2 separate regions of the Homo sapiens genome follow, and region 1 is linked to region 2. Evidence: promoter capture Hi-C in 16 types of primary human blood cells and fetal thymus (Javierre and others, 2016). All regions are on one chromosome and are shown on one strand. Each heading gives the region's core, a stretch centred on a gene start or on the middle of the fragment in contact. The rest is flanking DNA. Distances are from core to core; before and after follow the strand shown. Region 1 overlaps GRIK1 (glutamate ionotropic receptor kainate type subunit 1). Region 2 holds the start of GRIK1-AS1 (GRIK1 antisense RNA 1).

Region 1 (2,728 bases), core at 212-2,711, 150 kb before region 2:
CTGGATGTAAAAGAACATGCTTAGAGAATCACTTCATCATTCACCTACTTGTCTTTGCAATTTAGTAAAAATGCCTGAACAATGTTCATTTGTTATTTTATTTATTTATTGTTAAGGAGGTTACCTTTTCAGTTCCTTCCTCTTTGAGACTAATAATGTCCAGATCAAAATCCTTCCTCAAGCCATTGGTTTTATTAAAGGTGATATGCCCAGTCAAGCCATCCCACCGGGCCTGTGGACAAGAAGAAATGTGGCTGTTATTGTTAAACATTTATCATAATTCCTGAGACCATCAAAATTATAATACCTCAAATTCATCACAGTATCCAATTATTTGTTTTCATCATGCTGTTATAAACCATTGCATTGGTTCAGCGACAAGATAGCAGAACACATCGTCTTTTTATTAGCACTCATTTATTCTGTCAATTCTAACATCCTAACCCAGTCAAACCTGTCATCGTGGCTACCTAAATGGACAGTATGGAAAGAATTGCCGTAAAACAGTCTGCACACGGAATACACAAAATCTGAGAAATCACAATATTCTGTTTTCCAAGGTCAATCCAAATTCCCTTTGAGATATGGCTGAGTGGAAGTGAGTCCCTGCTTTTTCTTTCTCTGTGAAAAGAATATAGACTAATATAGTCCAATGATGTATTGCAGTTTTTAGGCTGTTTATGACTTAGCGTGTTTGCACCATTTGGGCATTATAATTTCCCGTGGCTGCTGTAGCAAGTAATCACAAACGTGGGTGCTCAAAACAACAGAAATTTATTTTCTCAAGGTTATGGAGGCCTGAAATCCAAAATCAGTGTTAACTGGGTGGAATTAATGTGTCAGCGGGACCGTGCTCTCTCTGGAGGCTCGAGGGAAGACCCTATTCTTTGCCTCCTTCTGCTTCTGGTGGCTTCTGGCATTTCTCCTTCTCTTGTGGTTGCATCACTCCAATCTCTGCCTCAGTGGTCACATTTCCTCCTCCCCTGCTGTCTGCATAAAAGCTCCCTCTGCAAGGTGGAGGTTGTGGTGAGCCGAGATCCTTCCACTGCGCTCCAGGAGCCTGGGCAACAGAGCAAGACTCTGTCACAAACAAACAAACAAACAAACAAAAAGGGTCGGGCGCAGTGGCTTGCGCCTGTAATCCCAGCACTTCGGGATGCCGAGGTGGGCGGAGATCGAGACCATCCTGGCTAACACGGTGAAACCCCATCTCTACTAAAAATACAAAATATTAGCCAGGCGTGGTGGCGCATGCTTGTAATCCCAGCTACTCGGGAGGCTGAGTCAGGAGAATCGCTTGAACCCCAGAGGCAGAGGTTGCAGTGAGCCGAGATTATGCCATTGCACTCCAGCCTGGCGACAGAGCAAGACTCCGTCTAAAACAAAAACAAAAACAAAAAAACTCCTTCTGCTTCTGTCTTATAAAGACACTTGTGATTGTAAATACAATCTAAATAGAACTCACCTGGATAATTTCCCCATCTCAAAAATCCTTAATCACCTATGCAAAGGCCTTTTTGCTATATAAATTAACATTTACAGGTTCCAGGGATGAGGACATGGGTAACTTTTGAGGGTGCCGGTCTTCTTCCTACCCTACATATCAACATCATTTCAAATAACAAAAAATTCACAATAGTCTGCCTTTCACAGAACTCACATTGGGTATCTCTGGTGGTTTTATTAAATAAAAAGCGGTGGCCCTTGGGAGAGTCTTCAGCTTCAATCATTAGGTGATTTTTGGCAACCTTGTTGATTTGAGTTTCACTTACAAATAGGGATAAAGGAAAACTCAGATCTTTGTATCCACTTAGCTGTTTTTCTCCCTCTTGACTTTACCAAATTCATTAGACATGCATAAAATGGGAAGATTCTGAAGAATTACACTGTATTTGCAGTTATTTGCGCCACGTATATATGTTGAATGTATTTACCCATTTGGCCAAGAGGCAGAGCAATGCAGTGAATTTTCCATACCTCTAGGGCTGAATATCTGCAGTGTAACTTCAGGCAAGCTACTGAACTTGAGGCGTTTTAATTTTTAACATTTATTGTTTTTATAACTGTCTCTCACTTTTCCCACTTTCATAATTCTAGAGTTTGGCTATTACTATCTCACGTTTAGCCTTTACTTGGCTGTGCTGTATTTCATTTTACAAATCACGACCAGATTCACGGTCCCCAAGTAAATTTTCGTATTTATGCAATTTTCACCAGCACATAAAGTACATAATGGATTCATTCTACCTACAAATTAGTCTAAACCTTGACTTTACGTTGGAGGTTGTGATGGTTAATTTTGTGTGTCAACTTGCCTAGGCCACACGATGCCCAAATATCTAGTCAAACATTATTTCTGGGTGTGTCTGTGAGGGTGTTTCCAAAAAAGATTAGCATTTGAAATGGTGGACTGAGCAAGGCAGACAGCCCTCTCCACGTGAGTGGGTACCATTCAATTCATGTAGAGCCTGAAAAGAACAAAAAGGCAGAGGAAGAGAGCATTTACTCTCTGCCTGACTGACAGCTGAAACAGCGGCCTTCACCTGTTCTTGAGAACAGGAGATTACATCATCGATGCTCTTCGTTCTCAGGCCTTTAGACTCAGACTAGACTTACACCAGCCAGCTTTCCAGGGTCTCTAGTTTGCAGATGGTAGAATGTGGGACTTCTCAGCCTCCATGTTGGTGTGCCAATTTCTCATAGTAAACCTCTTTGTATATATATCCTA
Region 2 (2,792 bases), core at 259-2,758:
CTGATCTGAAGTAGGGTGTTATCAATTTTAATGAATCATTGAGCAACAGGTTTAGAGAGGACATTAAAAGAGATGACACACAAATATAAACCAGAGAATTGCCAATTGAAGGGAACAACCAGAAATGCAATTTAAAGTGGTGTTCTTTTGATGTTCAAAGTAACTTTTGGTGATTTTTACACACAGAGAAAAAGAAAACATTTTTTCCCTACTCAAGGTACTGCCATACAAAATAATCAAAAGGAAAAAGTATCACTTTTAGGTAGCCATTTTCTACACCTCAATCAGATTAAAGGTCTATTTTTCATCGGTTTACTTAGAGTGAATTTGCACTGCTGCATGGTGTTGTTAGTCTTTGTTGGATACCATAAGGTGTCTCCCAAGAACTTAGGAATAATGAAAATAAAATTGTTCCCTGAGAGCTAAACTATGAGCCAAACAAATAATAAATAAAAGTAGAGAATCACAGTTACCTTAAATAGACAAAAGAGCTCCCAGGACTGCAAGACTTGATTGTAACCTGCCTGAATGTATTAGAGTACTAAGAAAGAATATAGTCTCAACTGATGTCTGCACAGCCATGGGAAGATAAGGGAAAAGAAAGTCTCAGAGCAATATGGGCATGCCATTTATGCATGGTCCTGGCTAGGGAGTAAGAGCATCCTTTTGAGTAGGATATGTCTAGCTCTTACACATCAGATTAATCTCCCAAATCCTTGTTGTGTTCTCTTTACATGATCAGGAAGGAAATCTCCAATTGTGATCTGGCTTCCTGCAGGGGTTAAGGTAAACAAGGCAGACCCTGAGAAGAGGCGAAGGCAGAAAGTATCAGTTGGTTGAAGAAAGATAGTATCAGTTGTTGAAGAAAGAATAGAAAGCATGGGCCAGGCCGGGTGGCTCACACCTATAATCCCAGCACTTTGGTAGGCTGAGGCAGGTGGATCACGAGGTCAGGAGATCGAGACCATCCTGGCCAATATGGTGAAACCCCGTCTCTACTAAAAATACAAAAATTAGCTGGGCGTGGTGGCACGTGCCTGTAGTTCCAGCTACTCGGGAGGCTGAGGCAGGAGAATCGCTTGAACCTGGGAGGCAGAGCTGGCAGTGAGCAGAGATTGCACCACTGCACTTCAGCCTGGCGACAGAGCATGACTCCATCTCAAAGAAAAAAGAATAGAAAGCATGAGTAGTGATTACAGACATAAATTTCAGTAGCCCACTGAAGAAATATTCTGTGATTTAATGTCAGTCTTTTTAAAGTCACAATTTACAGCAACCTTTTTCTCCCTTAGAATTTAAACATGCTTAATCCCGTTTCATCTCAAACAATAAAATAAAAGAGACATGCCACCTCCACTTTTTCCAACACCCCTTTCCTGAGTTCCAGCTAACACTGTGAAAGCAAGGTGTATGTTTCTTAAGTATTCATTTAAGTTCTTGGGTTTATTTACATATTGTTTCTCCCTGGCATTAATCAGAGTATTGTTTGAATTTTCCAACGGTATTTCAGTTACACTCTGTTGATTCAAAAGAAGGTTGTTTGTCCAAGCTTGTCCAAGTCAGTTTCAAGAGGCTCAGCCACCAAAAGTTTCATCAAAGAGGAAGCCAAGGTCATCAGTAAAGCCTCACGAGAGGTAGGATCACAGGGGTGAAGTGGACACTCACGGGTCCTGCCATCCTTGGCATCAGGAAAGTCTCCATTCTGGACCACCTTTGTCTGTCTGAACAATTCCTCTCAGATTTTAGAGTCTGGAAATTTCCTGAGTAGCTTAAGAGAAGATAAGAGTCAAAGTTTCCAAACTGTAGAAATAACCCAAATGCATGGCTCCTTTTATTTCCACAAATTTGGCCAGAGACATGACAATTTGGGCAACTTTGTGCAATGTTTTACATTTAATGATTTTTATGACCCAAACTCTGCTAGGCAGAATAGTATAAGCATTTGTAATCCGTACTGAAATAATCCATCTGGCATAAAATCCAAATTTCAAAATTGGATGAGATTGTGTGTTCTGGGCCTACCAAGATAGTTATTACACACATGAGAACTCAAAATACTAAAGCTACTGGTAGAAACAATTGCTCTTCTCCTTGCTGTAAACATGAAAGTGAGAAGCAGCAAAGAACGATCAACAAATTAACACCCTTTTCATATTTTTTGTGACAGCTACCTGGAACGGGCAGGAAAGAAAAATGCAGATAAGAAAATTAAAACCACAGACTCCTGGGCAGCGAACAAGAGCCTTCTGATCCTAATTCGATCTGGAGTTAAGAATGAAGGGGATTTCTGTAGCAGTTTCTTTTGCATAGCAGAGCTCCGACTTTTCCAGCAACAGCGTGTCCCTGGAAGCTACACAAAGTCCTCTTTGATTGCCTGTGATCAAAGCCACGAAGGCTCTCCTGCAACATCTTAGCTTCAGAAAGCCAGGAAAATCAGAATGCTGAGAGTATATTAATAATTCCTAAACATATTTTTAAGGTGAGTGGTACTTCTAACAGAGCTTCATTATTACTAAAAATGATTTGTTTCTGACTTTCCTGTTGGGGAAAAAGTTAGCCTTAACTTTCTGATGAGCAAGTTGCATGTTACAGTGGATATTGAACAATATAGTCAGTTGTTTTACTCAGAATTTATGCAGCTGATCACATAGGGACAGGACTGGATGATAGAAAGCTCACTAGACTGGAAGTCAGGAGAATCAGCTTTGTCACCGATCTAACGTAGCATAGTGGACGTGTCTAATAGCCTTGGCCTCAGCATCTCCATCTGTGAAATGGGCTGAAGGGCTTGA

Evidence for each region. The method cuts DNA at HindIII sites, captures the fragments that hold promoters and counts their contacts. A CHiCAGO score of 5 or more calls a contact.
Region 1: a contact is called between a fragment that was not itself captured here and the fragment with the promoter of GRIK1-AS1 in region 2, in 1 of 17 cell types (monocytes). The highest score is 5.5, in monocytes.

The regions. Positions count from the first base shown.
Region 1 is chr21:29,598,706-29,601,433 of GRCh38, forward strand. It overlaps GRIK1 (glutamate ionotropic receptor kainate type subunit 1), which reads right to left. Exons shown (of 18, transcript NM_001330994.2): 8 at 125-232. All of the region lies in intron 2 of GRIK1-AS2 (GRIK1 antisense RNA 2), which reads left to right. Among named protein-coding and RNA genes, the nearest start is that of GRIK1-AS2, 4.0 kb to the left of the region's middle. The HindIII fragment of the contact is 3,290 bases long and covers 1-2,728 here.
Region 2 is chr21:29,746,667-29,749,458 of GRCh38, forward strand. GRIK1-AS1 (GRIK1 antisense RNA 1) reads left to right here and starts at 1,509. Exons shown (of 5, transcript NR_027021.1): 1 at 1,509-1,634; 2 at 2,168-2,479. All of the region lies in intron 1 of GRIK1 (glutamate ionotropic receptor kainate type subunit 1), which reads right to left. The HindIII fragment of the contact is 19,094 bases long and covers 1-1,547 here.